Linked DNA regions of Homo sapiens: all the other regions are linked to region 3. Evidence: promoter capture Hi-C in human tissues and cell types (Jung and others, 2019). All regions are on one chromosome and are shown on one strand. The core of a region is centred on a gene start or on the middle of the fragment in contact, and the rest is flanking DNA. Distances in the headings are between cores, read along the strand shown.

The links. The method cuts DNA at HindIII sites, captures the fragments that hold promoters and counts their contacts. A contact is called where the count stands out against the background at its distance.
Region 1: a contact is called between a fragment that was not itself captured here and the fragment with the promoter of CHRNA1 in region 3, in 1 of the 25 tissues and cell types used here (IMR-90 fibroblasts).
Region 2: a contact is called between a fragment that was not itself captured here and the fragment with the promoter of CHRNA1 in region 3, in 5 of the 25 tissues and cell types used here (adrenal gland, bladder, hippocampus and 2 more).

What each region holds. Positions count from the first base shown.
Region 1 is chr2:174,806,220-174,808,919 of GRCh38, forward strand. It overlaps CHN1 (chimerin 1), which reads right to left. Exons shown (of 13, transcript NM_001822.7): 11 at 2,686-2,700. Among named protein-coding and RNA genes, the nearest start is that of CHRNA1, 43 kb to the left of the region's middle. The HindIII fragment of the contact is 4,550 bases long and covers 1-2,700 here.
Region 2 is chr2:174,728,189-174,730,888 of GRCh38, forward strand. No RefSeq gene overlaps it. Among named protein-coding and RNA genes, the nearest start is that of CHRNA1, 35 kb to the right of the region's middle. RefSeq lists an enhancer at 1,635-2,374 and a silencer at 1,973-2,267. The HindIII fragment of the contact is 6,702 bases long and covers 1-2,700 here.
Region 3 is chr2:174,763,043-174,766,010 of GRCh38, forward strand. It overlaps CHRNA1 (cholinergic receptor nicotinic alpha 1 subunit), which reads right to left and starts at 1,430. Exons shown (of 9, transcript NM_000079.4): 1 at 1,310-1,430. The coding sequence starts at 1,352. RefSeq lists an enhancer at 1,431-1,930. The HindIII fragment of the contact is 8,948 bases long and covers 1-2,968 here.

The DNA of each region.
Region 1 (2,700 bases), core at 135-2,634, 43 kb after region 3:
GTAGCATGGGATGACCTGGCCTTCTCCACCCTTGCTTTCCTTTTTCATTTCTTGCAGTCACCCCCTTCCAGCTTTTAAGCTACAGGTTCCTCCAAGAAAGCTGCAAAAGCAGAGCTCAAACAGCTTTTGTAGAAGAAAGGTTTAATGTAAATTCTGATATTTTGTTGGCAAAGGATGCTAATAAATGCCAGAGACATTTTTAGGAGCTGAGAGAGAAAAAAAATTTTGGAGAATATATCCGCATTAGGAAGGATCATTTAACCCTGTCCCTCGTTTGAAAGGGGTTCTTCCTTCTTCCCTTGTGTAAGTCTCATTCCCTGTTCTATCAAGTGAGCCAGGCAGTGTGACAGAGTGGGTAAAGCAAGGGCTCTGACCTTAGAGGTGTGTGTGAATGCCATTGCCGCCGCCCCTAGTGAGCAATGTGATCTTACACAATTTACTGATACTCCATCACATCTCCTTTCTAAAATTACATCATGGATGTAAAGTGCTCGGCAGGATTCATGGCACCTCGTCTATGCTCTATAAATGTTAATTTCTCTCATCTTCCTTGTCTGCCTTTTAAGAGAATGGCCGTATCTGCACATCTAAAGAATGAAACAGACTCTACTGCCAGAAGAGAGTGTACAAGGACACAATATTCCACAAACAAGATATCGCTATTAAACATGTACAACAAACGTTTATATTATATATTGGTATTATGCCAGGGTTTTTGGTGTCATTCATAAATCAGACATCCAAATAACTGAAATTATAAGGAGAAATTTCTACCTTGATTTCCGAAAGTTTCTTTCTTATGATGTGGTTTCCAGAGTTCTCTGAGGGGTGAGATAAGGGGGCTTGCTAATTTTGGACAGGAAGGCTGTTTCAGAAACTCCATAACGATGACAAATGATTTGGAAGGATAATAAAAAGGAGAGATTTTCTTCAGCAGCTAAGGTGGGTGTGGGGAAGGAAGGAGAGGTCATTTGGAATTGTGGGGACAAAGGCCTCGAAGTCCAAGAGGAGGCTTGGCTTTTACTTCTTCCTAGATATGGCGGTGTGTGGAGTTCAGAACCTGGGTTTGCATCACTGCTTTGTCCTCTGCTGATTGTGTGCCCCAGAGTTAGGCATAGAGCCAAGCTTCAGTTTTACTTCCAGAGTGGAAGCTTACCCACTTTCAGTGGGATCGGAGTCCTCGGGATCAGAGCATACTGTGGACTAGGCAGCTTTTCACGGGCTATCTGTGTGTGTGTGTGTGTGTGTGTGTGTGTGTGTGTGTGTGTGTGTGTGTGTGTGTGTGTGTGTGTGTTGCTTTCTAGATGAGTGGCAATCAGACTTAACTGGAGAGGAAATGTCTGCCCCATGAGACAAGGACATGTGAGATCCCTCATACAAATTTTCATGATCAGCACTGCGTCCATAAGAGACCTAGAATTTTTCATGCTTTCTAACCTAATGCTTTGAAAGAAATCAGTGTAATTCTCACAGCTGTTCTCTACATGGGAGCTTGAGCTGACCCACAAGAAATCAGACCTCCATGGAACTAACCACAAAAATCCTCTACAAAAGCCCTGAGAGGGAAACTAAAATTTAGAACAAAGAAAGATTGTACTTCATGAAATTCCCAAGTCAAAAAGCAAATTAGTGTTACTAAGGAAGTGATGTTATCATCTAAAGATGAAGACAACATATGGTTTTAAAGAGAGAAAAGCAAAATGACAGAAATAGCCTATCTTTTCCAAAAAAACCAGTAATGCTAATACTTAAAACCAATAAGAATTCCCTTCTTTAAAAAATGAAGTGTGAATTACAAGTATGATTTTTACAGCATAAATGAACTTTGACAAATAAACCTTTGCTTTTTCTCATTTTCATTTCAACTAGAATTTACAAAAACTTCTTGATATAAAATAGTGCTTTTTAAAGTACAATGTGTGGGCCAGTGCCAGTTTGCTGTTAATAGTCTGAGTGAACTTATACAAGCACAGAAACTGAGAATAAGAATTTAGAAACATATAGTAATCTGATAGAAATTTTATGTTTGCTGAATTTAATAAAAGATAGTTGGTTTTTTGTTTGTTTTTGTTTTATTTCTTGAGACGTAGTTTTGCTCTTGTTGCCCAGGCTGGAATGCAATGGCACAATCTCAGCTCACTGCAACCTCTGCCTCCCGGGTTCAAGCAATTCTCCTGCCTCAGCCTCCTGAGTAGCTGGGACTACAGGCGCGTGCCACCACGCCCAGCTAATTTTTTGTATTTTTAGTAGAGATGGGGTTTCACCATGTTGGCCAGGCTGGTCTTGCACTCCTGACTTCAGGTGATCTGCCCACCTCAGCCTCCCAAAGTGCTGGGATTACAGGCGTGAGCCACTGCCAGCCTGGTTTTGTTTTTTTAATTTACTTTTCCAGTTATTCATTTTTATTTTATTTTACAAAAGCATTGGCTTACATCTAAAGAGCACTGGTATAAGCCTTATTTTGGAAAATGAGGTTTAGCACATTACAAAGAAGCTTCTGATGGTATTAAGTCATAAAATAATCTACGTTAGAGAACAATGCAAAATTCTTGTAAGTACATTAACCATAGAGAGAGGCAAAGGGGAAACATTTCATAAAATGCATTCAAGTTAGCCAGAAAACCAGGAAGGTGATTACCAAGAGGACGTTGTCAGGTTATTTGAAATACATGCATTCATACTTACTGGCAGATTCTATAA
Region 2 (2,700 bases), core at 133-2,632, 35 kb before region 3:
ATTATGATGGAATTGGTGGAAATGAAGGAAAATGTTGTCCTGGTGTTAACCTTTGTGGGAGGAAGCCTTGAGAACCATCCTCCCCCGCAGCAACAGGTGGGTGTTCCTGGAAAAGGCTGGTTTGTTGGTGGTGGTGGTGGTGTGTGTGTGCGTGCGTGTGTGTGTTTTGAGATGGAGTTTCGCTCTTGTTACCCAGGCTGGAATGCAATGGCGCCATCTCGGCTCACTGCAACCTCCACCTCTTGGGTTCAAGCGATTCTCCTGCCTCAGCCTCCGAAAGTAGCTGGAATTACAGGCGCCTGCCACCACACCCGGCTAATTTTTGTATTTTTAGTAGAGACAGGGTTTCACCATGTTAGCCAGGCCGGTCTCGAACTCCTGACCTCAGGTTATCCACCTGCCTTGGCCTCCCAAAGTGCTAGGATTACAGGTGTGAGGCACCGCGCCCGGCCAGGGCTGGTCTTGTGTAGAGAGATCAGAGTGGTTCGGAAGCTTGACAGGAACAGGGATTTCTCCTTTCCTGGTGTTGTAATGACCTGAAAATCTGTCTTGTTCTTCAGTCTACCTTGTTCTCCACCCAAGGGTGTCGGGCATTTCCCAGCTTCACTGGCCTCCCGGTCTGTGCCTGCTGCTAGACTCCATCCGGGTTCCACTCACAGTTCTCCTCCCAGGGCTTTTCCCAACCACCCTGCCTCCTGCCTCATTATCCAAGGTGCCACAACCTATTTTACAGATTTCCTTGTTTATTTCCTCTCTGCCCTCTAATGCCATTTAAAAAATTTTATCATTTCTACTTCAGTTTATTATCTATTATGTAAAATAAAATATTTCCTGATTTTGATTTATCGTTATATCCCAAGGACCAAGAATGGCGCCGGGTACGGAGAACACTCAGCATCCTTCCATTTGTGGAAGGAATAAATATTTGTGTATCTATGTAGATCTGTTTTCCCACTTGCTTTGTGATCTGTGTATTTAAAGAGGGGGCAGCTTCTTCACAAGGCATTCTTTCTGGAAACAGAAATGCAATTCTTCTTAAGGAAAAGTGGATCATTAAGATTTCTGAACTAGTTTTGCAACTATATAGAGAAATGTTGGAGTAAAAGTTAATTCCAATGTTAAAATTCTATTCTGTAATTATCATAAAAACATAGACTTTTAAGAGCGTTATTTCTGGATCACACAGTTCCACCAGCACTCTCCCTAGTAGACAGCCTCAGAGGGGCTCAGAGCAGTCGGTGATATGCCGGGGACACCCGAGTCCCAGCCAGGAAGTGCCCAGGGAGGAATGAACCAGACCTATGGGAAGGAACAAGTGAGTCCTGCCAATGCAACCCCTGTCCTCCCTTTAAAAAAAAATGACAATTAAGCTTAATGAAGGTATTTGCAATTGAACCATGGATCTAAAAAGGTAAAAGTGGGGGAAAGTTAAGAGTTTCTAATTATAAGCATCATCTTCCTGAAACTCTCACTTTTACCCTTAATTCAGAAAAGACACGTGGCTCTTAACCTCCTATGTACTTGTGTTGCAGGTGGTGTCTTTGGTGGCTGTTCACCCTTCCACAGTAAACATGCTTGGGAAGCAACTTTGCCAAAAGCCTTCGGACAGTCCAGCGTCAACACCGCAAGCCAAGTGGTAAGGCCCGCGGGGACAGAACCGTCGGACCCTGGTGGCGAATCTGGGATGGATGAATTCGTTGCTGTTGCGGCGGGCGGTGTTGGCAGGAGCGCTAGATTTGCTCGGGTTGGAGTGTGAGATGTTCCCTTCCGCCGAAGGAGCCCATGCAGACAGGGCTAGATGTACCTTCTGCAGCTTCTGCAGCGACTTGAGGCGCGTCGCTGCTAGAGGGTCCTGGTGCCCTCGGCGTGCGTGAGGTGCTGTGTGTCCCTCCCCACCCCCCGTACAATCCTCCCCGTAACTGGGCAGTGGAATCGGTGGGCACTGGAAGGACCCGACGCAGGTGATGGGATGCAGCGCTTCCAGGTGGTGACCCCGGCTGGACGTGCGTGGGTGCGAACTGCCACCCGGGCTGGGGCCAGCTTGCTGCGCCGCTGCCTCCGCAAGCCCTCCCAGCCCGGAGCTGAGTCTGACGAGGATTTCTTACGCGTTCAAGCGAGTGTGGAGCGGCGAGGCAGTGCACTTGCCCCATAGCTCCCGCGCTGGGAAACCCGGAGGGGAGGGGCTGTGGAGGGCGGGAGCCCCGGGCAGTAGGTCTGTGCTTCTTCCTTGGTCCCATTACACGGGAAGGGCAAGGTGACGCCACTCAGCCACGCAGGCCTCGCATTGGTGCCTTCCCTTCCCTAGCCAGGACGCGGCTATTAAACGCTGCTTTTAGCCGATTGTATTTCCTGTCTTTGAATCCGTTTTCTTTCTCCTCTCTGGTTGGTTGGTTCTAGCTCTAAGCCCATCAAAGACTTTAAGGATCCTACACAGAGTGCTGCAGGCTCCCTTTGTCAGAATTGGGGCCCCTAGGAGCTGAGTGCGGCAGGTTTCGCCTGTTCCTGGAGCTCGTAGTCAGGGTCGCTAGTGCACTGCCACTCTGAGGACTGGACGGAGTTCCAGACCTGCCTCCGGGGACCTCCTGCGTGAGGGCGGAGGCCCTTTCATGACCGTGAGATGCTCCGGGCCTTCCTGGTCAGCATGAGCTGCAGCCTCCACGCTGGGGCCTCCTGCCAAGTCCCGGGCTTTGGTGACTTAAG
Region 3 (2,968 bases), core at 180-2,679:
ACCTTGGGCAGGTCAGCTTTAGTTTCCTTGTAATAAAAAATTGAGGATGTTGGACTGCCTGATCTAGCTCTAAATTTCTATAAAACACCCATGGAAATCAATGCCAGCAAACTCGAGATTTGACCTAAATACATATCACATACTTCTTTAATAGCTAATCATGCATTTTTGGTTAGCAATAACCAAAATCCTAAGAGATCTCTTAAGGATGTTTACATTAAAGCATATCATTTAAGAATTTTCCTGTGACTGTGGTTTTGCGTGCACGCATGTGTGTGCACGCGCGCGCACACACACACACACACACACACACACATCAGGCCAGCTTTGGCTGGACAGAGTCCAAATCCCACATGATATAATTTATCTGAGTTTAGGCTCTTTCACTCAACTCTGATATTGAAAAAAATTAATAATAAAGCTTTTTGCCTCTTGACCAGAAGGCCTGTGTTTTTCAGAGCAATATTGGAAATGAAAAATCACAGGATGTCAGCCACCTTGTTTCTCAGTTGGGATGATATCACCAGTAAACTTTTATGTGAAGCAATCAGCAAACATCTCCTGTTTCCCTCTAGCGGAAGTCTGGGATTCAGGATGGTGTTTCAGCTGCTGTGTTAGGACACATTCCAGAGTAGAATGCAGGTCAAATGCTGTGCAAGGTTTTATAGTTTCAATTCAAACCCAAACCTATATATAGTAACATCTTAAAAAAAAAAAGTAGGTAGGAATGTATTCATATGGAATTTTTTTTAACTTCAGAAATTTTGAAAAAATTAAAAAATATTTGTCTCTGTGGAGAGAGTTTAGTTATGATTATTAACTGGTTTCTATCTCCAGCACATGTAGCTGTCAATCAGTCCTCTTTATTATTAGAATTCTCCTGGAGCAGTAAAGGGACTTGTTAACTCCATTGTATGTGATTATAAGGCACTGTTCTAAGTATCCATAGTTGTTTAAATATGAACCCCCGGACACTACCATGATCCACAAGTGGTCCAGGTCCTACAAATGGTGCCGAGTGTTCAGAGGGATGAGTCGGCTGCCAGGCATGATGGAGGGAGAGACATGCGTGTCTATCTTGAAGTCTTTGACCAGGCAGTTTCTATTTTAATTAGATAAGGCAAACTAAAAATCTTTATCCAAAAACTCAATCAAGCTAACATCAGGAAGAAACTGACAGAGCAGCCCCTGGTTGGGGAGGCTCTGCCATTCTGTGGTCTCATCAAAGAAGCAAGACTTTGATTTGGGGGCCTCCAGCACTTTAGCCTCAAAGGAGAGCCCTCTCCCCACCCCTGACCCCAGCACTTACCTGAGCAAAGGCTAAAGAGCAGGAGGAGAGGCCAGGGCTCCATGGGCTACCGGAGCTTGTGTGGACCAGGGCAGAGTGGTGGCCTGTGCTTCTCACTGGCACTCTGGCTGGGTGCTTGTCTGCTGGAGGGTTTGGAAAGCGAGTCGGCTCACTAGAGCTATTGTTTTACACCACCTGTTTGTGGGAGCGACAGCTGGGCTGCCCTCAGCCCTGGAGCCCAGGGAGTTACTGGGACTGTACACCATTACAGATATGCCTCACTTTACACAATTGCTTACCCTTGACAAGCTGAGTATGAACTGCATTATATTTTAAATGCACCAGTAGTCAGATCTTAATGAAAAAAAAATGTATAGGAAGGAAGGAATTATTTTAAATGGTGAGCAAACTGCCTCTCTTTTGTGTAAACCAGAACCTCATCTCTGTGGGTTGACTTGATTAGGGTCATTTGGTCTGAGTAGATAGTCAGCTGTTTGTCCTAAACCACAAAAATCCACATTCTGCAAACATGGCTTCAGTTTCATTTCCTCTGCTTCAGTGTTAGGCTGAGGGTGCCGGGGGCTTTTCTGACTGCCTGGATTTCAGAAAAGTGTAGCTGGTGTTGAGTCTGCTGCTGGGAAGCCCCCACGTTGATTGGGTTTGGTTTTTAACAAAGACAGCTTCTTCCATAAAACTGGCTTTACTGGCCCCCAGAGTGGCTGTTCCAACCCCTGCCTCTGTATCAGGCAATACCTATCCCACACGAACCATTAGCTGGAGCAAATTGCCCACGTCCTATGCACTGTGATTCAAGCGAAGAGTAATTATTGGGAAAAAGTGTCCCACCGCATCAGCAGTCGTTCCGGGTTCCTGCCTCCTTCCATCCGTCCCTCTGCCTACTCTCACTCAGGGAAGCAAAGAGCAGAGTGGTTCAGCTTTTCAATTATCTTGCTTGAAAAACATCCTAAAAACCAGCAGTTAGTAATTTCTCAGTCTGAGAAGTATTGTTACCCTAGCTGTGCTTCTTTGCAGGGTGTGAGGTGAGTTCCCAGAAGGAGACAGTTACTTAAAGGTACCCTGCCTGTTCCTTCCAGGCCTCCTTCCCACATGGAACTAGGTGAGAAAGGTCCTCTCACCTCAAGCCCACAACAACATCCTGACAGATCCTCTCATTCCAGTGGATCCAAACAAATCATTAGAGAAGGGGCTTGGAGGGTAGAGGAGAGAGCTGCAAGCTCATACTATTTATATTTTTTGTTTAAACTGTGGGAGATCAGTTAACTGTTTGCTAAAAAAAAATTTGGTTCTCTCCCTTCCATGGAATAGCCCCGTGGCAGAAATACAACCCCCACCCTCTGACCAGCCCCTTCCATCTAAATGGAGCCATGGGACTGACCTCTGGCCAGTGGCATGAGTGGAAAAATGTTCTCAGACTCACAAACCTACCAGAGCTCAGCCCCGCCCTTCTAGTCTTCTGACCGGCTAGAATGGACATGGTCCCAAAGTTAACCTTAGAAACCATGTTCTGAAGGTGGTGTTGCTTTTGACATTCTGAATCCTTGAATGACTGCATGGAGGGGGACCCCCTATCCACCTGCTCACCACCCAGCACTATTTCAATGAAAACAAAACATGCATCGTGCTGAGCCATCAAAATCCTTGGGTTTATTTGTACAGCAG